Linked DNA regions of Homo sapiens: all the other regions are linked to region 4. The links are contacts of gene promoters, found by promoter capture Hi-C in blood cells and fetal thymus (Javierre and others, 2016). All regions are on one chromosome and are shown on one strand. The core of a region is centred on a gene start or on the middle of the fragment in contact, and the rest is flanking DNA. Distances in the headings are between cores, read along the strand shown. Region 1 has its middle 17 kb from the start of DCP2. Region 2 overlaps REEP5 (receptor accessory protein 5). Region 3 has its middle 2.1 kb from the start of SRP19. Region 4 holds the start of YTHDC2 (YTH N6-methyladenosine RNA binding protein C2). Region 5 has its middle 21 kb from the start of REEP5. Region 6 overlaps APC (APC regulator of Wnt signaling pathway). Region 7 overlaps REEP5 (receptor accessory protein 5).

Region 1 (3,652 bases), core at 905-3,404, 550 kb before region 4:
TATCTCTGAAGAAATGGCATTCCAAAGCCAGAGGTAGATAATCTTTAAGATTTATATACTTTTGGTTCACATAAGCTCACTATCGTGAAAATAATGGTATATGTGGGCAAATGTATGGAAATTGACAGTCCACTTTTACATATTAATAATAGAAAGGCTTGGACTTTTTAAGCATAAAAATTGCCTACATTTCAGAGCTTGCAGTGAGCCGAGATCGTGCCACTGCGCTCCAGCCTGGGAGACAGAGCGAGACTCCACGTCAAAAAAAAAAAAAAAATTGCGTATATTCTTTATTTCCAGCGGAGTCCTTTCATTGATTTGTATTAATTTTTCATATTCAAAGTTAGGAAAATTAACTTTTAGAAAGTCATTTACTACTAAAAATAATGAAACTCTTTTAAGTAGTAAAATAGAGTATACTGATTTTTGCTTAAAAAAGAAATTTCTTGGCCCTGTTGCTGGCCACCTGGCTCTCTGTCCTTAAACCAAATCCATCCCTCAGAGGCCACTAGCCAGCAAAGGCCAGATGCAGACCCTCCCAGTTTAATCAGAACAGTTGCCAAAATCTTGTTCATTTCCAACCTGATCTTTTATTACTCTGTCTCTGACTTGGACAGTGTGGTCTCCTTACCCCACACTTCCATTCCAATTCCGCATCCCTTCCCAAAATTCTGATTCTGCTTAAGACCATCTACATGTGCTGTTTGTACTTGGCTTCCAGGGTGCAGTTTGACTTTCCAGTCTCTCAAATATTTTTGATCTGGACTGTTTCCATCTCTTTTGCAGGGTGCTTAGTCGTGCTGACAGAAAGTTACATGGGATATAAAAATGTAATCTCAGGGTTGCTTGAAAAGTGTTGAATTGAAATGAAGCCTAAGCTGAGTGATTTTCAAGGTTAAAGGTCCTATTAGAGCCATTATATGGAAGTACTGCCAAGCAGATGGTTAAGTTGGTTACTCAGTGTTTCTTTAGTCTGTGGGACTTGAGGCGCAGTGCCAAACCCTGCAGCTCAGATCTCTTTCAGGCTTTCCCTGTGTACCCTGGTGACTCATTGTTTTTTTAAAGATGCAAATAATGTTAGCGAACTGTCTAATTCAACTCTTCCCCCTTGGACCCATGAGACAGTTTTCTGCAGATAGCATATTTTGCTCATGATATATCAATTTTATTATTGTAAATCAGAGTGTTCTCAACTTCTCTAAGTGTTGGTGGCCATTCTTGTTTGTGCCAAATTAGCAGGGTCTAAGCTTCTGTCTCTATTTCCAAGGTTACCGTCCTGCCAATCATCTTTTGCTCTCATCACTTTTTTTTAATGCTTCTTTGCTTTCCTAATAACCATGTATTCCAAATGTAGGTACAGACCTCTCCCTTGACTCCCCCAAAACATAGTGAGAGCAGACTTAGTGTGTTAGTTAGGACTCTTGGTTGCAAGAGACAAAAATTCTATTCAAACTGGTTTTAAAGAACAACAACAATGACAAAAAAGAGAATGTATTGGCTAAGGTAATGAAAGATCCAGGGAATATATGTAGTTTGAGGCTCGGTTGGATTCTAGGGCTCAAACAGTAAGATAAGAAATTACTCCATTACTCAGAGTAATGGAGTTTGAAAAAGAAAATAGAAAAGAAACAGAAAGTGGCTTCTCTTCATCTCTTTCTCCTGCTTTCTTCTGTTTTGGCTTCATTCTTATGCAGGCTTTCCTGAGTGGTAGCAGAGAAAGCACTGGAATCCCCAGGCTTATGTTCCTAGCACTTTAGCAAGCCCAACAGAAAGAAGAAGCATTTCTTTTCCAATCAGTTAAGAAGACATCCTCATGTTGGGTCTTTGGCAATTTGGCTTGGGTTCCTAGCTTTTTTTTTTTTTTTTTTTAATGGAGTCTCACTCTGTCACCCAGGCTGGAGTGCAGCAGTGTGATCTCTATAGAATGAATAAGACTTAGTATTTGTTTTTTGTTTTGTTTTGTTTTGTTTTTTTTGAGACGGAGTCTTGCTCTGTCGCCCAGGCTGGAGTGCAATGGCACGATCTCGGCTCACTGCAACCTCCGCCTCCTGGGTTCAAGTGATTCTCCAGCCTCAGCCTCCTGAGTAGCTGGGATTACAGGTGTGTGCCACCACGCCCAGCTAATGTTTGTTTGTTTTTTTAATAGAGACGGGGTTTTGCCACGTTGGCCAGGCTGGTCTCGAACTATAATTTTTTGTTGTTTGTTTGCTTGAGACAGAGTCTCACCCTGCCACCAAGCTGGAGTGCAGTGGCAGGATCTCGGCTTACCGCAACCTCCAACTCCCTGGTTCAAGTGATTCTCCAGCCTCAGCCTCCCGAGTAGCTGGGATTACAGACACGTGCCACCATGCCCAGCTAATTTTTGTTAGAGACGGGGTTTCGCCATGTTGGCCAGGCTGGTCTTGAACTCCTGACCTTCGGTGATTCACCTGCCTTGGCCTCCTAAAGTGCTAGGATTACAGGCGTGAGTCATCATGCCTGGCCTCCTGGCTTATTTCTTAAATAATCATGGTGACAAGTGCTCTTGGAGGTTGGAGTGAGGGTGGAGGGGTTAGAAATGAGGAATCAAACCCACTCAGAGTACATGAATGAGAATGGGGGAGGAGTTGCTCCTGAAGGAAAAACAGCTTTATGCTTCCAGAGAGAAAATGAATGCTGAGAAGTTTTTTTGTTTGTTTGGTTTTTGTTTTTTGTTTTTTAAAGAGGCAGATGCTCACTGCACTTGGACTTTAGCAAAGAAAATTACTTTTCAGAAAAGGAAAAAGAATCCCCCTTAAAATGAAAGCATGTTGATATTCTGGCTCCTAGATCCATCTGTGCAGGGGCCTGCTCTTCCAGCTGTCACCCTCCTTAGGCCTCTGGTGCTAGGAGCATCTTTGAAATCATAGATGACAGATGGGGATTCTCTGACCTGGAGCCCTACCCAGGCTGCAGGCCCTCAACTATAGCCTTTTTTTTTTTTTTTTCCTAGAAAGAGGAAATCCTTCCTGCCTGCTTCTTCTCTCTTCTTCCAACATCATAATCCTCTTTCTGCAGTGCCTCAACTCTGCTCAGAGGAAGATAAAGCTTCGCATCATTCTTCAGAGCTGTTTACCTTCAATTGTCTCAAACTCTTCTGTCTGTAATAGTTTTGGAGCTTTAATTTTGTATGCTAAAAGGGCCTATTAAAATGTTTTTATCCAAAGAAAAGTGCACTCTCAAGCCTTAACTGAGAACTACCTTTGCCTCTACATGAGGAGAGGATTACTTATGTCAGTTTGGACTACTGTCTACATATAACAGAAAAAAACCAGTATCATCGCTTAAACAAAGTAGACATTTATTTCTCTCTCTCGCTCAGTAAAAGAATTCTAGAAATAGGCACTCCAGAGCTGGTTTAGTGGCTCCAAGGTCATCAGGGACCAGAGAGTTCTATTTTGCTACTCTGCTCAGGTTACCGATTGCTGGCGACAGGAAGGGACAAAGAGGAAGGGGTGGAAAAGAGGCTTCTGCTTTCTTTTAACAACTTCCCAAGGGTTCTAGACCACCGTTATGCTTGTATCTCCTTGGCCAAATGCAGTTTCACATCTAGCAGCATATGGCCGTGAGACAGACAAGGACATGTAGGCTTTTAAATGAGGCCTTTAACTGAGAGGAGGGAGGAGATTGGACA
Region 2 (3,746 bases), core at 197-2,696, 620 kb before region 4:
ATCTGACCTCGTGATCTGCCCACCTTGGCCTCCTAATGTGCTTAGGATTATAGGCGTGAGCCACTGCACCCTGCTGCCTTTTGGTTTTTAATATCCAAAATTCATACAATGTTTTACTGTAGTTGCTTATATAGGAAAAGCTATACATCCCCAAAATGCAATACAACATTATGATATGCAGGAAATGTCTTGAGTAACATTTTTGACAGAATATCAGAATCCTTGGTGGACATTTTGAAGAATATGCAGAGCATCACAGGGGATGTGCTATGTATTCCTGCACACAGAGCAATTGTTACTTACTATATTAACTATTTGGAGAGCAGCAAGTGTTTTTAGCATCTAACATCCTAACATGATATTTGTTATATATAGGTATTTTGCTGTATTTTATTAATACTTAGTGAATTCGTTGAGTTTTACATTGACATGTAATACATTAAAATTTTTCCCACTTAAAATAGTGGAAAATAAGCTTCTGCATAGAATGTATTCCTACATAGAATATCTGATTTTCAGAAATGGATTATCAAGAGAGAGACAGATGTCCATATTAAAACCAGAGCATTAAGGTGAAGTGAAAATGACTCATTGGATTAAGAATCAGGAGAGGTGGGGCTGGGCGCAGTGGCTTACGCCTGTAATCCCAGCACTTTAGGAGGCCGAGGCAGGTGGATCACGAGGTCAGGAGTTCGAGACCATCCTGGCCAACATGGTGAAACCCTGTCTCTACTAAAATTAGAAAAAAAATAGCCGGGCATTGTGGTGGGCACCCGTAGTCCCAGCCACTCAGGAGGCTGAGGCAGGAGAATCACTGGAACCCAGGAGGCGGAGGTTACAGTGAGCTGAGATTGCGCCACTGCACTCCAGCCTGGCGACAGAGCGAGACTCTGTCTCAAAAAAAAAAAAAAAAAAAAATCAGGAGAGGTGGGGTGTGTTTTATGACTTTAGGCAAATCAACCTAAGAGACAGTTTTCTCTTCTGCAGAGTTTTAGGAAAGTCACAAATTAATGTACTTGAAGAAAGTGTACAATAGAATAGTAGTATTACCAAATCCTAAAGTTCTTATTGTGGAAAATCTCTGAAATATTACCTGCCTATGTAGATGCCAACCCTTCAGCAATCCAGACAAGCTTATTATCTTTTCTGGATGAATTAAGTGTCCACAGTTTTGTACCTCTTCAATGTGATTACTTTGTAGGCTAGACTGCAGACTGTTAATTGACTACTTTCTGGTACCCTCTAGCTATTGTCTTGAGACAGTAAAATAATTACTGCTCTCTAGCTACATCCTTAGCATTTTCCTGTTCTGAAATGAAATCATTTTCTTATGTTAAAAATAAAGTTAATTACTGTTCAACTCCCAAGGTGATATTCAGCTGCCACCTCTTACAACCCTCTCTTCTTAATCTGTGTAACTATTCTACAGCCCAGGAATAGCCTGAGTTTATTAAAGTCACCCACACAGATCTGGCTCTTTTCAATCAAGCTGCCCTCAAAGTGCCAGCTGATGATACTCCCAAGGAGACTCACAAGCCCACTGCTGCCTGCAGTTCAGACAGAGTCCATGCTATTTTAACTGGACTCTTGGCACTATTAGCACTGACACAATGACTCCTTAAATTACGAATTACAACAGGCCATTCTATTCCGTCTGTGCTTCTAATGCTGTCACCATGTGATTTTCCCCCAGAAGAGATATTTCCCAGGTAGGGGTATGCTTAACATGCAGTTACGGAACTGAGAGTTAATGTCAGAAGAAAGCTTTTGCAGTGTAGCCACAGAATAGTTACAGGCTACATTGCTCAGCATGCACAAATAAAAGCTTAAAAGAACGTGTTAAAGGAAAGATTTCCCTGTCTTTTTAGCCTCCTACGAACATTAAGAAGAAAAATGTTGCGAGGCACAGTGGCTTACGCCTGTAATCCTAGCACTCTGGGAGGCTGAGGTGTCCAAGAGGATCACCTGAGGTCAGGAGTTTGAGACCAGCCTGGCCAACATGGTGAAACCCCATCTCTACTAAAAATACAAAATTTGCCTAGCGTGGTGGTGGGCACCTGTAATCCCAGCTACTTGGGAGGCTGAGGCAGGAGAATTGCTTGAATGCGGGAAGTACAGGTTGCAGTGAGCAGAGATCACGCCACTTCACTCCACTCCAGCCTGAGTGAAATAGCGAAACTCCATCTCAAAAAAAAGAAAAAAGAAAAGAAAAATGTTATATTCTCTGTCAATGGGTGAAATAGCACAGGTGACAATTCAGGTCAGGACCTAATCTTGCCAGAGTTTACTCAACCTTGTTCTAAAAATAAATCTAGCCAGGCCTGGTGGCTCACGCCTGTAATTGCAGCACTTCGGGAGGCTGAGGTGGGTGGATCACAAGGTCAGGAGTTGAGACCAGCCTGGCCAACATGGTGAAACCCCGTCTCTACTAAAAATACAAAAATTAGCCGGGCGTGGTTGTGCACCTGTAGTCCCAGCTACTCGGGAGGCTGAGACAGGAGAATCACTTGAACCTGGGAAAGAGGTTACAGTGAGCAGAGGTCACGCCACTGCACTCCAGCCTGGGCGACAGAGCAAGACTCCGTCTCAAAAAAAGTAAAGTAAATCTAGAAAATGATTTAAATGAAGGTAAACAGAGGATACAAAGATATTAATTGCAGCATTATGTATAATCGCATGACAAATGTCCTCAATGTCTTTCAATTGGGAAGTAGGTAAATTATCAATAACATTAGATAGCTATGTCAAAAAATACTGAATAACATGAGAAAATACTCAGAATACTGTGTTAATTGAAAAAAGCAAGACACAGAATTATATATCATATGTGATCTAAGCCACACATATGTTAAGACAGCAATACATACATATATATATACACATACACACAGAGTTCTGTTTTTATTTATATACACAGACCAATATATTTGCACATTTTAAAAAATAGGAAGACTACTCTAAGATGTAGGATTACAAATGTTATTTTCCTCCCTACATAAAACACATCCCATCACACACACACACACACACACACACACACACACACACACACACAAATGTAAACAGTAGGACAACAAGGACTTTGTTTTATTCGCCAAAGTATCTCCCAGATGTAGAACAGAATCTGGCACATGGAGGTTCTAAATAAATCTGCTGAATAAAGGAATGAGCATATGTAAATTTCATAATCAAGAAAAAAAGCTTTTAAATTTATTTTTAAACCCTCTTGCTCAAGGCCAGATGTCAGAGCAAAGCTCAGAATATGCATGATCCAATTTCTACCTAAATACATCATATATTATCTTCTCAACTAAGCTTTGATGCCAAGCCATTGGCTCCTTTTATTTTCCTCCAATCTTATCAGCTGCTTTAGAAAAATGAAAATAAAGCCAACAATATTAACTCTGCAAAAAATAAAATATTAAACATGTCCTCGGGCTGGGAGCAGTGGCTCACACCTGTAATCCCAGCATTTTGAGAGGCCGAGGCGGGCAGATCACTTGAGGTCAGGAGTTTGAGACCAGCCTGGCAAACACGGCGAAACCCCATCTCTACTAAAAATACAAAAATTAGCTGGGTGTGGTGGTGCGTGCCTGTAATCCCAGCTACTTGGGAGGCTGTGGCAGGAGAATCGCTGGAACTGGAGAGGCAGTGGTTGCAGTGAGCCAAGATGGCACCACTGCACTCCAGCCTGGGTGACAGAGCAACACTCTGTCCCAAAAAACAAAAAACAAAACAAACCCATG
Region 3 (3,727 bases), core at 1,007-3,506, 650 kb before region 4:
AAAAATATATAGGCATGCCTCAGAGATGTTGCAGGTTTGGTTCCAGACCACCACAATAAAGCAAATATCATAATAACGCAAGTCATACAATTTTTTTGATTTCTCAGTGCATATAAAAGTTATGTTTACATTATACTGTAGTCTGTTAAGTGTGAAATAGCATTATATCCAGAAAAATAATGTACATACCTTATTTAAAATACTTTATTGCTAAAAATGCTAACAACCATCTGGGCCTTCAGAAAATCATAATCTTTTTGCTGGTGGAAGGTCTTGCCTCAGTGTTGATGTCTGCTGACTGATCAGGATGATGGTTGCTGAAGGTTGGAGTGGTTGTGGTAATTTCTTAAAATGAGACAACAGCGAATTTTGCCACATCAACTGACTCTTCCTTTCACGATAGATTTCTCTGTAGCGTGTAATGCTGTTTGGTAGTATTTTACCTATAGTAGAACTTCTTTAAAAACTGGAGTCAGTCCTCTCACACCCTGCCACTGCTGTATCAACTAAGTTTATGCTATTCTAAACCCTTTGATGTCATTTCAACAATGATCACAGCATATTCACCAGTGGTTTTCATCTCAAGAAACCACTTTCTTTGCCCATTCATAAGAAGCAACTCCTCATCATTCAAGTTTTATCATAATTGTAACAATTCAATCCCATCTTCAGTTTCTACTTCTAATTCTAGTTTTCTTGCTATTTCCACCACATCTGCAGTTATTGCCTCCACTAATGTCTTAAAGTCCTCAAAATGATCCCAGAGTGTTGAAATCAACTTCTTCCAAATTCCTGTTCATGCATCAGCATATTTTAACCTCCAATGAATCACAAATGCTCTTAATGCCATCTAGAATAGTGAATCTTTTTTAGAAGGTTTTCAATTTATCTTGCCCAGATCCATCAGAGGAATCACTATTTGGCAGCTATAGTTTTACAAAATGTATTTCTTAATAAGAGATGAAAATAAAAATTACTATTTGATCTGTAAACTGCAGAATGGATGATGTGTTATCAGGCATGAAAACATTAATCTCCTTCTAGATCTCCATCAGAAACTTAGATGTCTAGAGGTCTAGGTGCATTGTCAATGAGCAGTAATATTTTGAAAGGAATCTCTTTTTTTTTTCTCTGAGTAGTTGTTTTCAACAGTGGGCTTAAAAATATTCAGTAAAGGCTGGGTGCAGTGGCTCACGCCTGTAATCCCAGTACTTTGGGAGGCTGAGGCAAGAGGATTGCTTGACCCCATGAGTTCAAGACCAGCCCGGGCAACATAGCAAGACCTTGTCTCCACTAAAAATAAAAATAAAAATCAGCCAGGCATGGTGGCATGAGCCCATAGTCCCAGCTACTCAGGAGGCTTGTGTAGGAGGATTGCTTGAGTGTGGGAGGTCAAGGCTGCAGTGAGATGTGATAGGGCCACTGCATGCCAGCCTGGGTGACAGAGCGAGACTGTCTCAAAAAAATAGTTCAGTAAACCATGCTGTAAACAGATGTACTGTCATCCAGGCTTTGTTGTTCCATTTAGAGAACACAGGCAGAGTTGATTTAGCATCATTCTAGGGTCTCTAGGATTTTCTGCATGGTAAATGTCCATTGGCTTTAACTTAAAATCACCAACTGCATTGTTCCCTAACAAGATAATCAGCCTGTCCTTGGCAGCTTTGAAGCCAGGCATTGACTTCTTCTCTCAAAGAGACAAGGATTTTGGGTGCTACATCCTAGATGGCATCTTTTTCCAATAGAAGGCTGTTTTGTCTACATTGAAAAACCTGTTGTTTAGTGTAGCCACTAAATGGGGCAGCTCTGAAGCCAGACATTGACTTCTCTCAAAGGGACAAGGATTTTGGGTGCTACATCCTAGATGGTATCTTTTTCCAATAGAAGACTGTTTTGTCTACATTGAAAAATCTGTTGTTTAGTGTAGCCACTAAATGATACTAGCTAATCATTGATCATCGTCAATGATATTAGCTACATTTTCTGGATAACTTGCTGCAGCTTCTCTATCAGCACTTGCTGCTTCACCTTGCACTTTTATGTTATATGTTATGGAGATGGATTCTTTCTTAAACCTCCTGAACCACCCTCTACTAGCTTCCCACTTCTGAAGCTTCCTCACCTTTCTCAGCCTTCACAGAATTGAAGGGAGTTAGGGCCTTGCTCGGATTAGGCTTTGGGTTAAAGGAATGTTGTGACTGGTTTGAGCTTCTATCCAAACCCCTAAAACTTTCTCCATATCAGCAATAAGGTTGTTTTGCTTTCTGATCATTTGTGTGTTTATTGAAGTAATTTCCTTTTAATTCCTTCAAGAATTTTGTCTTTGTATTTACAACTTGGCTGTTAGGTGCCAAGAGGCCTAGCTTTCAGCCTATCTTGGCTTACATATGCCTTCCTCACTAAGCTTAATCATTTCCATCTTTTGACATGTGAGACGTGTGACTCTTCCTTTCACTTGAATACTTAGAGGCCATTGTAGGGTTACTAACTGGCCTAATTTCAACATTGTTGTGTTTCAGGGAATAGGGACTCCAGAAGAGGGAGAGAGATGGGAAATGGCCAGTTGGTCGAACAGTTAAAACATACACAACATTTATCCATTAAGTTCCCCATCTTATCTGGGCATGGTTCATGGTGCCCCAAAACATTATTATTATTTGAGACGGAGTCTTGCACTGTCGCCAGGCTGGAGTGCAGTGGTGTGATCTTGGCTCACTGCAACCTCCACCTCCTGGGTTCAAGAGATTCCCCTGCCTCCCGAGTAGCTGGGACTAAAGGCCTGTGCCACCATGCCTGGCTTATTTTTTATATTTTAGTAGAGATGGGGTTTCACCATGTTGGCCAAGATGGTGTCTATCTCCTGACCTCGTGATCCACCTGCCTCGGCCTCCCAAAGTGCTGGGATTACAGGCGTGAGCCACCGCACCCGGCCTTAAAACTATTACAATAGTAACAGCAAACATCACTGATCACCGATCACCATAACAGAAATAATGAAAAGGTTTGAAATATTGCAAAAATTACCAAATGTGACACAAAGTATACGCTGCTGGAAAAATGGCACCAAGCAACTTCTTTCAGGCGGATTTGCCAAAAACCTTCCATTTGTAAAAAGGCAGTATCTACTCGCAGCAGCAAGTGAAGTGCAATAATGAAGTATGCCTGTAGTGATGGCACATGGTATCCTTCAGAAGTTTTAAAAGGTGAATAGTTTTGTTTCGTTTTTCCTAGACGGAGTCTTGCTCTGTTACGCAGGCTGGAGTGCAGTGGTGTGATCTCAGCTCACTGCAACCTCCACCTCCTGGGTTCAAGTGATTCTCCTGTCTCAGCCTCCGAGTAGCTGGGATTACAGGCGTGTGCCACCACACTCGGCTAATTTTTGTATTTTTAGTACAGACGGGGTTTCAGCATGTTGGCCAGGCTGCTCTCCAACTCCTGACCTCATGATCCACCTGCCTCAGTCTCCCAAAGTGCTGGGATACAGGCGTGAGCCACCGCACCCGGCCTAAAAGGTGAATAGCTAAGTTTCTAACGCAGAGCACACTGAAACACAACGTCTATAACTTTGCTAGTTCTACCACTACAAAAATCCATTTTGCCAAACTGAAAGCAAGCTCTAGAGCCCAGGAACGGAGAAAAATTAAACGTAAGGAGTATTTCCTTCCCTGTCTAACATATATTTGCATCCTGAACCACACAGATTCCCCTCGTGGCACAGTCTTCGCCC
Region 4 (3,553 bases), core at 854-3,353:
GATCTCCCACACCATTCAGGGTTTTTGTTTTGTTCTCCCCAAGAGAAGCAGGGCTCAGGATCCTTTTTGGCAACTTACTGGTGTATTACTATGTGACTTTTTCCAGTTCCAGAGAACCGAAACCAACTTAAGACAATATTTCCCCAAATAATAACCCCTAAATGACCTGGCTGAACAAGAGAGAAAGGGATGGAGGGCTGGCAAAGTAGGGGTGATGAGGGGGCAAAGGGTGGGAGGAAATATCCCTAGCATCAATAATAAAATCATGTTGGTTATATTTTAAGACTTTATTACTCTACCAGGTCAATTTTATAGATGAGAAGAGAGCAGTCTCCAGACCACTGTGCTGTGGCATGCTCGTATGCCACAAGTTGTTTACAGGCATATCAAGATGTTGATGACCCCAGTTCTTAGGCAACTGGGTACAAACTGGAACGGGTGAAGCTAGTTCTTTCAGCCTAGTCACTTATGCCCAAGATCAGCCTTATCATTGTACAAATATATTAGTCAGAATAAGCTAACTCTTTGTATCAGTTATCTACTGCTGTGTAAGAAACCCAACCTAAAACTTAGTGGCTTACAGCAATATTCATTTTATTTGTTTATGTGTTCTGTGGGTCAACAGTTTGGACTATGTTTAGCTAGGTGGTTTTGCTAATCTTGCTTTGGGTTGCTTACAGAGTTGTGGTCATCCAGCAGCTTTTCTAAGACTAGACTTTCCATTATGGCCTTTTTCACGTCTTGCCCTTGGTGCTGGTGGATGATTGGGCCATAGTTGTCAGTGGGCTAGCCTAAGCTTCTTTACTTTGTGGAAGAAGAATTCTCAGCAGCAAAACAGGCTAAGCCTTAATGCACAAACACCTTTCAAGCCCCTGCTTATCTCGTATTTGCTGATGTCCCAATGGCCAAAGCAAGTTACATAGCCAAAGACAGAGTCCATGTGGGAAGGAAGAATACAAGGGTGTGAACAGAGGAATGTGTGATTCATCAAAGGCCATACCTTTGATGAATTCAACAATTTACCATAATGTTACAAAAAAAAATCTTCCCAAATCTCAGCAGTTTACCACAACTAAGAATTATTTCTTACCCATGTCATATTCCAATGTGGGTTGGTGAGGACACTCTATCACACTCGTTCAGGGAATCGGGAACCTGTTATCTATCTAGTGGTTCCACCGTTGTCTAAGAACTTCCAGAAGACCAGGAAAGACAGAGAAGGGAAGATTCAAGGAAGGTGTTATAGACCAATCCTGGAAGTGGTATACATCAGTTCCAGCAACATTCCAATGGCCGGAACTCAGCCATGTGGCCCCCAGCTAACTGCAGGAGAGTTGGGAAATATAATGCCTAGGAAGAAAAGATACTTCTTGTCACCAAATATTCCGCCCCCTTCTTACCACACACAGAATACACATATACCCTCCCCAGACACCTGGAATTCTATCTAGTCACTGCATCCAGGATCTGTTGTTGATACACAGTCCTCTTTATTAGATCCAGATGTATATCCTCATTGCCAGGTAACTCATGAACTATGTAAATATGTACTACATACCTGCCCCCACTCAGCTACCCTGTGTAGCGTGATAGAGCAAGGGTGGCATACTTGCATTAAAATCTCCCATTCAGAAAAGGGAAGAATGCAAGACACACAACAGTGGCTCATTCTTTAGTATATGTATTTTTTATGATATTTTTCCAAATATTGCATGGGAAATATATACACTAAAAATTATTCGTTTATCTGAAATGCAAATTATTAAGCATTCTGTATTTTTATTTGCTAAATCTGGCAACCCTCCTCCCACTAAAATATAAACTCCATGAAGGTAGGAACCTTGGCTCTCTGGTTCTCCAATGTACATCGAAGGCGTGGCATAATGCCAGGTCCACAGTAGAAGCCCATACATGCTTACTGCAGGAATTAATGAAGGACTAAACGAAGTAGCAAGTGAGTGAATAAGAAGATGAGGAGCGACCCTTGGTGGGCGGCGCGGGAAGAGAACCGCACCATAGCTCCGCAGACAGCCTCCTTTAGGCGCGCAGCGGCGGCCGCGCTGAGGTCACGGGCGCCGGCCCTGGTGACGTCATTACGCCCGCGCTCCTCGCCTGGCCGTGATATCAATGGCGCAGGCTTCACTTCTGCTGTGGCGGTGACTGAGGCCTTTCTGGTGACCTCAGCCCAACACAGGCCGTCTCCGGAGCTTCCCGGTAGTGGCCCCGGATTCCCACGGTCTTTGTCATTGGCTGTCAGCTAGCAGGCCTGGCCGCTCCCGTGCGGAGAGACCATCTCTTCAGGGCAATGTCCAGGCCGAGCAGCGTCTCCCCGCGGCAGCCGGCTCCTGGCGGTGGCGGAGGCGGCGGCCCCTCGCCTTGTGGCCCTGGGGGCGGCGGCCGGGCCAAGGGGCTGAAGGACATTCGCATTGATGAGGAGGTGAAGATCGCAGTCAATATCGCGCTGGAGCGCTTCCGATACGGGGACCAGAGAGGTGAGGTTCCGGACAGGGACCATGCTGGCAGTCAGGATACCCCCCTCACCCCAGCGCCCCCCAAACGGCGGCCCACCGAGTGATGGGGGTGCCTCCGAAGAGGGAGGGAAGACCCGGGCCACCGTCCGGGGCGGGCCTCAGCGGCGGCACCCGGGTCTGGAACGCGGCTGTTGGCCCTGCGGTGGAATGCGAGGTGCTCTGCGGATCAATGGGGTTATGGGCACTTTGCTCCCTAGCTGAAAGTGTTTTTCCCCCGCGTCTTTCAGCAGCCTTGGGCGGTTAAGCCACCGTGTTTCAGATATTGGTTAGCCCTAACCCTTTTTAAGGGGGTGTCACCTAATTGTGGCACGTTTAAGCTACAGATGTAGAAGAGCAGAAAGAAATCAAACATATAAATAAATGCACCAGCAATACGTTTGGACCCTGAAGCATCACGCTACCCACTTAAATTAAACTTGTTTGGCACACGAAGCATCTTCCACACCTCTTGAGGTTAGATAGCCACTTGTCTTGGGTCATATAATGCAGAACCAGCAACTGACCTGCGGTGACCTGTGCAGTCTGTTGAGGGCTCATTCGGACCTGCTGGCTTAGTTAGGGGACCTCTTACTCTGGAATCTTATAGTCCAAAACGGGGAATGTTCTAGACAGAGAGATTCTAAATTCACATTAAAAAAAGAGAAAGCCTCAGCAATATATAACAAATCCCTCTGAAATAGTGAAATACGAATTCTGTACAGTTTTGAAAGCAAAGACAATGGAGTTTCATGTTGAGAATTCATAATATTTGAACATATCTCATCATTGAAGAAAATAAACATTTTGTTAACTAAACAAGTAGGGACCAAGTTAAATATGTTCAGTCATTATACCAACTCAAAATTCCAGAACAAGTAAGAGGAGTCGTTTTTGGTGAATATCAGAGGCCTTTATCACATTTAGGTTTAATACATAGCTGTCTTTTTATTAATATCAGAATTCTGATAGACATTCAGTAGTTATTGAATTAATAAAATATCTTAATTTTATTAATTTACATAAATAGAATATGAAATATAAAG
Region 5 (3,741 bases), core at 111-2,610, 570 kb before region 4:
TAGATTGAGTTGTGGCTAAACTGGAGCATTTACTTGGGCACCTCTACAGCCCCTTCAGTGTCCTTTTTCCTCTGAGGATGAATACTCTTCTACTCCCACACTCATTTTCTTTATAATATCTGCTTTCAGAAAAAGTCTGAAATGTACTTATAATGTGCCACCACCTAAATAGGGAACAAACCTAGGGAAGTGTTGGGGCTGGAATGATCAAGTCTGGCACAGTCTCTAGACCTTGACTAAATAACTGAAGATGAGAGCTCCAAGACAACCTGCCCCTATATCTATATAGAGTGATGAATTTGTAGCTATAATAAAATATTTTACCCATAAAGTTCTGGCCCTATGGATGTGGGTGTTTTTATGCCTTTGTGGGTGTCTTTCTCTTCTATGTTTGGACTTGCTTTTTATGCCCCTATTTCTTTTTCTCTCTTCATTTCTTTTCTTTTCTCTTTACTTTTTCCTCTTAATTGGCCATAATATATTGTGAAAGCTGATTTCTTATTGACCTTATCAAGTAATTATATTTTCTATGTACTCTGTGTTAAGAATGAAACTCGGCTGGCACTTATTTGGAGGCTAGGGGTCAACTATGTTTTATATTCCATTATCACTAATTGACATTGCATTATTCATTTATTGGTTTATTTCTCCTATTGTGTAAACACCCTGAGAGCTGGGCCTTGGTCTCATTCTCTGCTGTATCCCAATGGGGTCCACTCTGCAGCCACAGGAGAGGTCCTTCATTTACCCTGTCCCAATCCCAATCCTTTCCTTTTCCCCTGAAAGTAACTACATCTTGAGTTTTATGTTCATTGCTTTCTTGCTTTCTTTATAGTTCTGTCGCCCATGATGCACCTCTAAACTCTGAAGCTTAATTTTCCTTCTAACTATATACATCTTTTAAGTCTCTTTTACCTACCCCTTCAATCCCCTTTGCCCCACCTTTTTCAACTTACTTCTGAAAGAAACTGGGTTGTTTTATCTGACTTGTAGAGTTTCCCACATCTGTATTTTGCTGATTGCATTCCCATGTAATTTACACTTGTCTGTTTTCTGTATTTTCTATAAATTGGTAGTGAGATTATGGCCTTGATCAGATTCAGGTACAATTTTCAGGCTAGACTCCTTTGTAGGTGACTTGTAGAAAATATGTAATAACTGATTGTCTCTCTCTGTGTGATGTTGGCAACCACTGATCCATTAATTCATCAGAAATTGAAAACTTCTCTACTTCTACTTGCTTACTTTGTATAGAAAAGACAGAATAAATGCTTAATGAAAGTGCATCTTTAGGTGTACAATATATAAAACAAATATATACAAATAAGAGAACTTACTAACCACAGACCTACAGTGAAAGATCTACTAAAAAGACATACTTCAGTTAGAAGAACAGTAAACCCAGGAAGAAAAAATTAGATGTAAGCAAACATGAAAAGCATAGAAATTGATAAGTTGGTAAGTACAATTAACTATCAATATAAAAAATAATTTGAGGGTTAAAAATAATATGGGGGCCAGGTGCAGTGGCTCACGCCTGTAATCGCAGCACTTAGGGAGGCCAAGGCGGGCAGATCATCTGAGGCCAGGAGTTCGAGACTAGTCTGGCAGACATGGCAAAACCCCGTCTCTACTAAAAATATATAAATTAGCTGGGCGTGATGGCATATGCCTGTAATTCCAGATACTCAGGAGGCTGAGGCAGGAGAATTGCTTGAACCGGGAGGTGGAGGTTGCAGTGAGCTGAGATTGCGCCATTGCACTCCAGCCTGGGCGACAAGAGTGAAACTCCACCTCAAAAAAATAAATTAAAAATAAAAACAATAATGTGGAAGTACTTACTAGGTAATTAAAGCTTGTTTAGGTTTGTGTCTTGTTCAGGAGAAGGAAAAAACACTGTGTATGTAATTGGAGACTTTATAGGAAAAATGTAGAGATATTCATGTTAAAAAAAATAGAAATGCTATGCATAGCCTTAAAACCAACAAAGAAGGAAAGAAGAATATAGAAAATTTCATCAGTCCCAAAGAAGCAACAGGAATAAAAAGAGAAAAAGAAAAAAAGAAAAAGGGTAGTAAAGCAAAGACCTAAATTAGATGGTAAAAATAAATTTAAATATACCAGGATGACTGACTATATAAGTTTATTAGATAGAATTCATTTACTAATAGATAAAAATCATCTCATTTGATTAACAAGCAAGCAAACAATAGTGTAAATAGTTCAAGGAGCCCACTTAAAACCATCCAGAAATTTCAAGATAAAAGTAAAGAAAAATATAACAATCAAATACTAATAAAAAAAAGAGTACGCAGAAATGCTAATAACATAATGGAATTAACAGCAAATGAATAGAATTATTATTATTATTATTTTTTTTTGAGACAGAGTCTCGCTCTGTCACCCAGGCTGGAGTGCAGTGGCACGATCTCGGCTCACTGCAACGTCTGCCTCCCAGGCTAAAGCGATTCTCATGCCTCAGCCTCCAAAGTAGTTGGGATTACAGGCACCCGCCATCACACCTGGCTAATTTTTGTATTTTTAGTAGAGATGGGTTTTTGCCATGTTGGCCAGGCTGGTCTCAAACTCATGACCTCAAGTGATCCCCCCAATTCAGCCTCCCAAAGCGCTGGGATTACAGGCATGAGTCACGAATAAAATTTAAGATGAAAAGCTTCATTTGGGGTAAAAATGAAAACTTTTTAATGATAGAATAATTTAAGTCAGGCGTGGTGACTCGTACCTGTAATCCTAGCACTTTGGAAGCCTGAGGTGATCGGATTACTAGAGTTCAGGAGTTGGAGACCAGCCTGGGCAACATGACAAAACCCCATCTCTACAAAAAGTACAAAAATTAGCCAGACGTGGTGGCGGGTGCCTGTAATCCCAGCTACTTTAGAGGCTGAAGTGGGAGGATTGTTTGAGCCCAGGATGCAGAGGTTGCAGTGAGCTGTGATCAAGCCACTGCACTCCAGCCTAGGGGGCAAAGTGAGAGTTTGTCTCAAAAAAAAAAAAAAAAAAGAAAAAGAAAGAAAGAATAACTTAGTATGAACCAGCACATCCCCAGCTGTGGTGGCTACAGGAAGAAACTCCTGTTTGAGAAAAGCAGAGGGAAAAGTAAAGGGGACTTTGTCTTGCACCTTAGGTACGATCTTGGCCACAGTGGGTGTAGAGCAAATAAGAAGGCTCTTAGAGTCCCTGAGTCCAGGCCTAGGCTCTTGGACTGCATTTCTGGACCCACCCTGGGCTAGAGGGGAGCCTACTGCCCTGAAGGCTGTTTTTTTTGTTTGTTTGTTTTGTTTTGTTTTGAGATGGAGTCTGGAGTGCAATGGCGGATCTCAGCTCACTGCAAGCTCCGCCTCCCAGGTTCACACCATTCTCCTGCCTTAGCCTCCCGAGCAGCTGGGACTACAGGCGCCCGCCACCACGCCTGGCTAATTTTTTGTATTTTTAGTAGAGACGGGATTTAACCGTGTTAGCCAGGATGGTCTCGATCTCCTGACCTTGTGATCCGCCCGACTTGTCCTCCCAAAGTGCTGGGATTACAGGCTTGAGCCACAGCGCCCGGCCTTGAAGGCTGTTTTTGTCTGCTTGTTTGTTTTGTTTGTTTGTTTTGAGATGGCGTCTCACTCTGTCGCCCAGGCTGGAGTGCAGTAGCACAATCTCTGTTCACCGCAACCTCCACCTCCTGGGTTTAAGCCATTCCCCTGCCTCAGCCTCCTGAGTAGCTTGGATTACAGG
Region 6 (2,995 bases), core at 37-2,536, 670 kb before region 4:
ATAATAGAAGATGAAATAAAACAAAGTGAGCAAAGACAATCAAGGAATCAAAGTACAACTTATCCTGTTTATACTGAGAGCACTGATGATAAACACCTCAAGTTCCAACCACATTTTGGACAGCAGGAATGTGTTTCTCCATACAGGTCACGGGGAGCCAATGGTTCAGAAACAAATCGAGTGGGTTCTAATCATGGAATTAATCAAAATGTAAGCCAGTCTTTGTGTCAAGAAGATGACTATGAAGATGATAAGCCTACCAATTATAGTGAACGTTACTCTGAAGAAGAACAGCATGAAGAAGAAGAGAGACCAACAAATTATAGCATAAAATATAATGAAGAGAAACGTCATGTGGATCAGCCTATTGATTATAGTTTAAAATATGCCACAGATATTCCTTCATCACAGAAACAGTCATTTTCATTCTCAAAGAGTTCATCTGGACAAAGCAGTAAAACCGAACATATGTCTTCAAGCAGTGAGAATACGTCCACACCTTCATCTAATGCCAAGAGGCAGAATCAGCTCCATCCAAGTTCTGCACAGAGTAGAAGTGGTCAGCCTCAAAAGGCTGCCACTTGCAAAGTTTCTTCTATTAACCAAGAAACAATACAGACTTATTGTGTAGAAGATACTCCAATATGTTTTTCAAGATGTAGTTCATTATCATCTTTGTCATCAGCTGAAGATGAAATAGGATGTAATCAGACGACACAGGAAGCAGATTCTGCTAATACCCTGCAAATAGCAGAAATAAAAGAAAAGATTGGAACTAGGTCAGCTGAAGATCCTGTGAGCGAAGTTCCAGCAGTGTCACAGCACCCTAGAACCAAATCCAGCAGACTGCAGGGTTCTAGTTTATCTTCAGAATCAGCCAGGCACAAAGCTGTTGAATTTTCTTCAGGAGCGAAATCTCCCTCCAAAAGTGGTGCTCAGACACCCAAAAGTCCACCTGAACACTATGTTCAGGAGACCCCACTCATGTTTAGCAGATGTACTTCTGTCAGTTCACTTGATAGTTTTGAGAGTCGTTCGATTGCCAGCTCCGTTCAGAGTGAACCATGCAGTGGAATGGTAAGTGGCATTATAAGCCCCAGTGATCTTCCAGATAGCCCTGGACAAACCATGCCACCAAGCAGAAGTAAAACACCTCCACCACCTCCTCAAACAGCTCAAACCAAGCGAGAAGTACCTAAAAATAAAGCACCTACTGCTGAAAAGAGAGAGAGTGGACCTAAGCAAGCTGCAGTAAATGCTGCAGTTCAGAGGGTCCAGGTTCTTCCAGATGCTGATACTTTATTACATTTTGCCACGGAAAGTACTCCAGATGGATTTTCTTGTTCATCCAGCCTGAGTGCTCTGAGCCTCGATGAGCCATTTATACAGAAAGATGTGGAATTAAGAATAATGCCTCCAGTTCAGGAAAATGACAATGGGAATGAAACAGAATCAGAGCAGCCTAAAGAATCAAATGAAAACCAAGAGAAAGAGGCAGAAAAAACTATTGATTCTGAAAAGGACCTATTAGATGATTCAGATGATGATGATATTGAAATACTAGAAGAATGTATTATTTCTGCCATGCCAACAAAGTCATCACGTAAAGCAAAAAAGCCAGCCCAGACTGCTTCAAAATTACCTCCACCTGTGGCAAGGAAACCAAGTCAGCTGCCTGTGTACAAACTTCTACCATCACAAAACAGGTTGCAACCCCAAAAGCATGTTAGTTTTACACCGGGGGATGATATGCCACGGGTGTATTGTGTTGAAGGGACACCTATAAACTTTTCCACAGCTACATCTCTAAGTGATCTAACAATCGAATCCCCTCCAAATGAGTTAGCTGCTGGAGAAGGAGTTAGAGGAGGGGCACAGTCAGGTGAATTTGAAAAACGAGATACCATTCCTACAGAAGGCAGAAGTACAGATGAGGCTCAAGGAGGAAAAACCTCATCTGTAACCATACCTGAATTGGATGACAATAAAGCAGAGGAAGGTGATATTCTTGCAGAATGCATTAATTCTGCTATGCCCAAAGGGAAAAGTCACAAGCCTTTCCGTGTGAAAAAGATAATGGACCAGGTCCAGCAAGCATCTGCGTCTTCTTCTGCACCCAACAAAAATCAGTTAGATGGTAAGAAAAAGAAACCAACTTCACCAGTAAAACCTATACCACAAAATACTGAATATAGGACACGTGTAAGAAAAAATGCAGACTCAAAAAATAATTTAAATGCTGAGAGAGTTTTCTCAGACAACAAAGATTCAAAGAAACAGAATTTGAAAAATAATTCCAAGGTCTTCAATGATAAGCTCCCAAATAATGAAGATAGAGTCAGAGGAAGTTTTGCTTTTGATTCACCTCATCATTACACGCCTATTGAAGGAACTCCTTACTGTTTTTCACGAAATGATTCTTTGAGTTCTCTAGATTTTGATGATGATGATGTTGACCTTTCCAGGGAAAAGGCTGAATTAAGAAAGGCAAAAGAAAATAAGGAATCAGAGGCTAAAGTTACCAGCCACACAGAACTAACCTCCAACCAACAATCAGCTAATAAGACACAAGCTATTGCAAAGCAGCCAATAAATCGAGGTCAGCCTAAACCCATACTTCAGAAACAATCCACTTTTCCCCAGTCATCCAAAGACATACCAGACAGAGGGGCAGCAACTGATGAAAAGTTACAGAATTTTGCTATTGAAAATACTCCGGTTTGCTTTTCTCATAATTCCTCTCTGAGTTCTCTCAGTGACATTGACCAAGAAAACAACAATAAAGAAAATGAACCTATCAAAGAGACTGAGCCCCCTGACTCACAGGGAGAACCAAGTAAACCTCAAGCATCAGGCTATGCTCCTAAATCATTTCATGTTGAAGATACCCCAGTTTGTTTCTCAAGAAACAGTTCTCTCAGTTCTCTTAGTATTGACTCTGAAGATGACCTGTTGCAGGAATGTATAAGCTCCGCAATGCCAAAAAAGAAAAAGC
Region 7 (3,633 bases), core at 100-2,599, 630 kb before region 4:
TAGAACCATAAAGATTATCCTAAATGTAACTACAGAGAAAATGCGTGCAGGGAGAGCCCAGTAAAGTACACAGCCTGTGGGGTATATAATTTTATTTTAAGTTTATATTTCCTGCAGGATAGCAACATACATCTTTTCCTACCCAGAGGCAAAATACATTTTCCAAAAACGTGGACACTGCCCACTGCATTAAGTTTAAAGTGCTCCCTATATATATAGACAGTAAAAGTAAGCAAAGAAACTTACAACACATTCCAATCTTTAATATCTCAAAAATGTTTCCAAGGCAACATTATTAAAATAATTATACCACAGTCCCTAATATAACATCAAGCTCCAGTAGGAAGGTACAGAGAGGGCAGGAAGTTTCCATCCAGTCTGGTTTAGGTGCTCTTCTTTTCTTCACCCAGTAAATTCACGGTAGCTTTCTTCGCTGTTTGTTTGTTAGGAGGGAAAGAAAAATATATCAAAGCTCTTTCTTTGGAATGCAAGCTTGCAAGCTTTGTGCCTAATGTAGCTACTAGATAACAAAACTTGGATGACTCATGTTCAGGTGCGATCATGTTGGGGTTTGTGGTCTGGGCTAAGAGGGTTTCCAGGAAATGGAGAAGGTACCTCTTAGAGCACAAATCCTAAATACTTGAGCAAAATACTTGAAGGTCATCTAGCCTAGCCCCTTGTTGTGACAGTGTCACCGAAACTGTCTGCCCTCTATTCTCCTTTAAGCATTGAAAGAAGCAGAGATTCCTTAAGAGTAGTGTTCAAATTCTATTTGTATCTGTGTGCTTGCCTGTAAGATTTCACTTATCAATATATTATCAATCTGATGACAACTAGGTCATCATATTTATCCCATGGCGACAAATCAGAGAAGTCCTCATTCCCAGCACTAGAAATACAGTCATCCCTTGATATATGTGTTTGGGGGGGGGGGCTGGGGGGGCGGTGGGGGAGAGGAGATTAGTTCCAGGAACCCTACAGATACCAAAATCTGTGAGTGCTCAAGCCCTTAAATAGAATGGCATACATAGTATTTCCATATAACCTATGTGCTTTCATATACTTTATTTATTTACTTATTTATTTTTTGAGACGGAGTCTCGCTCTGTCACCCAGCCTGGAGTGCAGTGGCGCGATCTCGGCTCACTACAGGCTCTGCCTCCCGGGTTCATGCCATTCTCCTGCCTCAGCCTCCCGAGTAGCTGGGACTACATGCACTCACCACCACGCCCAGCTAATTTTTTTTTGTATTTTTAGTAGAGATGGGGTTTCACTGTGTTAGCCAGGATGGTCTCAATTTCCTGACCTCGTGATCTGCCCGCCTTGGCCTCCCAAAGTGCTGGGATTACAGACGTAAGCCACCATGCCCGGCCTCTTCCATATACTTTAAATTCGGCCAGGCATAATGACTCATGCCTGTAATCGCAGCACTTTGGGAGGCTGAGGTGGGAAGATCGCTTGAAGCCAGGAATTTGAGACCAGCCTGGCCAATATGAATGGTGAGACCCCCACCCCCCACCTCTATTTTAAAAAAATTTTAAAAGCCCATCTCTAGTTAAAGTACCTAATGCAACATGAATGCTATATAAATTGTTGTTATACTAAATTGTTTTTAAAATCTGTATTTATACTCTTATTGTGCCACCATTCTCTCCTATGATGAGAAGAGTTTGCTCTAAGTCTTTGAGTTGGTGACAAGACACTACATTCATCAAGAAAACATTCTGTCCAGGTGTGGTGGCTCATGTCTATAATCCCAGAGCTTTGAGAGGCTGAGGTAGGAGTATTCCTTGAAGCCAGGAGTTTGAGATCACCCTGGCCAAAACACAGTGAGAGCCCATCTCTATAGAAAAAAAAGAAAAATATATTTTCTTACTTCTGCAGGAGACCAAGCCTTCCACTTTCTAATTACCAAGTGGCAGGGAATGTGCTATGAGAACCAGTACAGTGTGTAAGATGGAGGGGAAAGGGGTTGTCTAGAAGCCTCCAGGGCCCACTGTGAGATTTTACAATCTGCAGCTGTTCTTGATGGAGCCAGAGCCTTAGTGATGAGAGCCAAGGAGTCCCTTCTTGTCCACCAGCTGCCTGATAGTTGCTCTCCCTTTGCTCAGTTAAAATTACTGAACCAAGTTCACAGCAAAGGAGAAAATGTAGTCCTTCCCTTAACTAACCCTTTGTAGAAATTCCTAGTTAATCCAAAAGCTTTGAGAAAAGTCTAAAATGTGGCAGCATGTAAATTCCTCCTAACTTATTTTAATTCTCTTGCCCCTATTTAGGAATGTGTCATAACAAAGTAAGATTGGATTTTAAGTATTGATATCTAAGAGAACCAAGAGGCTAAGAAATGTGGGTGAAGTAGACAGAAATGACATCACCACAGGTTGCTGATTAGGCTAAGGGAAGGGAGAAGAAAAGAAAGCTCTTAAAAATAAGCTGGTAATCCTGGCTGGGCATGGTGGCTCATGCCTGTAATCCCAGCATTTTGAGAGGCCGAGGTGGGTGGATCACTTGAGGCCAGGAGTTTGAAACCAGCCTGGCCAACATGGCATAACGGTGTCTCTACTAAAAATACAAGTATCAGCTGGGCGTGGTGGCCCACACCTGTAATCACAGCTACTTGGGAGGCTGAGGCAGCAGAATCCCTTGAACCTGGAAGGTGGAGGCTGCAGTGAGCTGAGATCATGCTACTGCACTCCAGCCTGGGCAACAGAGTGAGACTCTGTTTCAAAAAAAAAAAAAAAAAAAAAAAGCTGGCAATCCTAAAGTGGGAGGAGGTTAAGGCTACAAGTTAAAAAATACCTAAAACATATTCAAGTAGACTGGATTTGTATGCCCAAAAATAGGAGTCCAGAGAAGAGAGGTCTGTGAGGGAGAAATGGGGAACATACCACTTCTGGGGCATCAGTGCTGCTGGAGAACTGTCTTGGGATTTTACTTCCCCATGGTCAGGCAACCTCACAACTCCCATGTCTAACTACCACAGAGCTCTAAAACACAAAAACCTTTCTCCAATTTCTAAAATCTGAGTCCCTCTGGAACTCAAGACCCATCACTGGCAAAATCTATATCCTCATCCATTCCTCCGAATGTTTCCTTTACCTTCTTGCTCTTAGAGAAAGCTGGCTGTGCCCTGAGGACACTGCTTTCTCAAGTGGTGGCTGTTTCTTTCCTCTCATGACCCTAGTACAAATGGATCTGGTAGGTGTTGTTTTTGTTCTTCATTGCCACTTTCAGAATCTCATGTCATCAGATTCTATCACTGAGTAGCCTTCCCTTTCCCTGTCATCCCTGACTCTTGGGCTACTTTGCCTTAGTTCTTGAAGATTTTAGCTCCTAACTTAATGTTCCTTTCTAACACTACTCCTATTATTTATTTATTTAGAGACAGGGTCTCACTCTGTCACCCAGGCTGGAATGCAGTGATGCCATCTCAGCTCACTGCAGCCTCAACCTCCAGGCTCAGGTGATCCTCCCATCTCAGCCTCCTGAGTAGCTGGGACTACTGGTACGCATCACCACATCTGGCTAATTTTTGTGTTTTTTTTTTTTTGTAGAGACTGGGTTTCACCATGTTACTCAGGCTGGTCTCAAACACCTGAGCTCAAGCAATCCACCCACCTTGACCTCTGGAAG

What was found. The method cuts DNA at HindIII sites, captures the fragments that hold promoters and counts their contacts. A CHiCAGO score of 5 or more calls a contact.
Region 1: a fragment that was not itself captured here is called in contact with the fragment with the promoter of YTHDC2 in region 4 in 10 of 17 cell types (naive CD8 T cells, activated CD4 T cells, naive CD4 T cells and 7 more); the score reaches 11.1 in naive CD8 T cells.
Region 2: a contact is called between a fragment that was not itself captured here and the fragment with the promoter of YTHDC2 in region 4, in 6 of 17 cell types (naive CD8 T cells, total CD8 T cells, naive CD4 T cells and 3 more). The highest score is 7.7, in naive CD8 T cells.
Region 3: a fragment that was not itself captured here is called in contact with the fragment with the promoter of YTHDC2 in region 4 in 9 of 17 cell types (total CD4 T cells, total CD8 T cells, fetal thymus and 6 more); the score reaches 9.6 in total CD4 T cells.
Region 5: a fragment that was not itself captured here is called in contact with the fragment with the promoter of YTHDC2 in region 4 in 6 of 17 cell types (naive CD4 T cells, naive CD8 T cells, total CD4 T cells and 3 more); the score reaches 11.2 in naive CD4 T cells.
Region 6: a fragment that was not itself captured here is called in contact with the fragment with the promoter of YTHDC2 in region 4 in 4 of 17 cell types (total CD4 T cells, naive CD8 T cells, naive CD4 T cells and 1 more); the score reaches 7.6 in total CD4 T cells.
Region 7: a fragment that was not itself captured here is called in contact with the fragment with the promoter of YTHDC2 in region 4 in 6 of 17 cell types (naive CD4 T cells, activated CD4 T cells, total CD4 T cells and 3 more); the score reaches 9.8 in naive CD4 T cells.

Annotation. Positions count from the first base shown.
Region 1 is chr5:112,957,630-112,961,281 of GRCh38, forward strand. No RefSeq gene overlaps it. Among named protein-coding and RNA genes, the nearest start is that of DCP2, 17 kb to the right of the region's middle. RefSeq lists an enhancer at 2,363-2,657. The HindIII fragment of the contact is 1,819 bases long and covers 1,246-3,064 here.
Region 2 is chr5:112,894,341-112,898,086 of GRCh38, forward strand. The region is part of intron 3 of REEP5 (receptor accessory protein 5); the gene reads right to left. It also overlaps a transcript of SRP19 not described here. Among named protein-coding and RNA genes, the nearest start is that of REEP5, 26 kb to the right of the region's middle. RefSeq lists a silencer at 2,479-2,528. The HindIII fragment of the contact is 631 bases long and covers 1,132-1,762 here.
Region 3 is chr5:112,857,278-112,861,004 of GRCh38, forward strand. No RefSeq gene overlaps it. Among named protein-coding and RNA genes, the nearest start is that of SRP19, 2.1 kb to the right of the region's middle. The HindIII fragment of the contact is 291 bases long and covers 2,112-2,402 here.
Region 4 is chr5:113,511,591-113,515,143 of GRCh38, forward strand. It overlaps YTHDC2 (YTH N6-methyladenosine RNA binding protein C2), which reads left to right and starts at 2,104. Exons shown (of 30, transcript NM_022828.5): 1 at 2,104-2,492. The coding sequence starts at 2,306. It overlaps LOC124901046 (a long non-coding RNA gene), which reads right to left and starts at 2,068. Exons shown (of 2, transcript XR_007058905.1): 1 at 1,841-2,068; 2 at 269-1,350. RefSeq lists enhancers at 1,860-1,909, 1,906-2,407 and a silencer at 2,360-2,589. The HindIII fragment of the contact is 3,291 bases long and covers 795-3,553 here.
Region 5 is chr5:112,940,940-112,944,680 of GRCh38, forward strand. No RefSeq gene overlaps it. Among named protein-coding and RNA genes, the nearest start is that of REEP5, 21 kb to the left of the region's middle. The HindIII fragment of the contact is 985 bases long and covers 869-1,853 here.
Region 6 is chr5:112,838,757-112,841,751 of GRCh38, forward strand. It overlaps APC (APC regulator of Wnt signaling pathway), which reads left to right. Exons shown (of 16, transcript NM_000038.6): 16 at 1-2,995. Among named protein-coding and RNA genes, the nearest start is that of SRP19, 21 kb to the right of the region's middle. The HindIII fragment of the contact is 3,863 bases long and covers 1-2,995 here.
Region 7 is chr5:112,878,403-112,882,035 of GRCh38, forward strand. It overlaps REEP5 (receptor accessory protein 5), which reads right to left. Exons shown (of 5, transcript NM_005669.5): 5 at 1-433. The coding sequence ends at 384. It also overlaps a transcript of SRP19 not described here. Among named protein-coding and RNA genes, the nearest start is that of SRP19, 19 kb to the left of the region's middle. The HindIII fragment of the contact is 1,702 bases long and covers 499-2,200 here.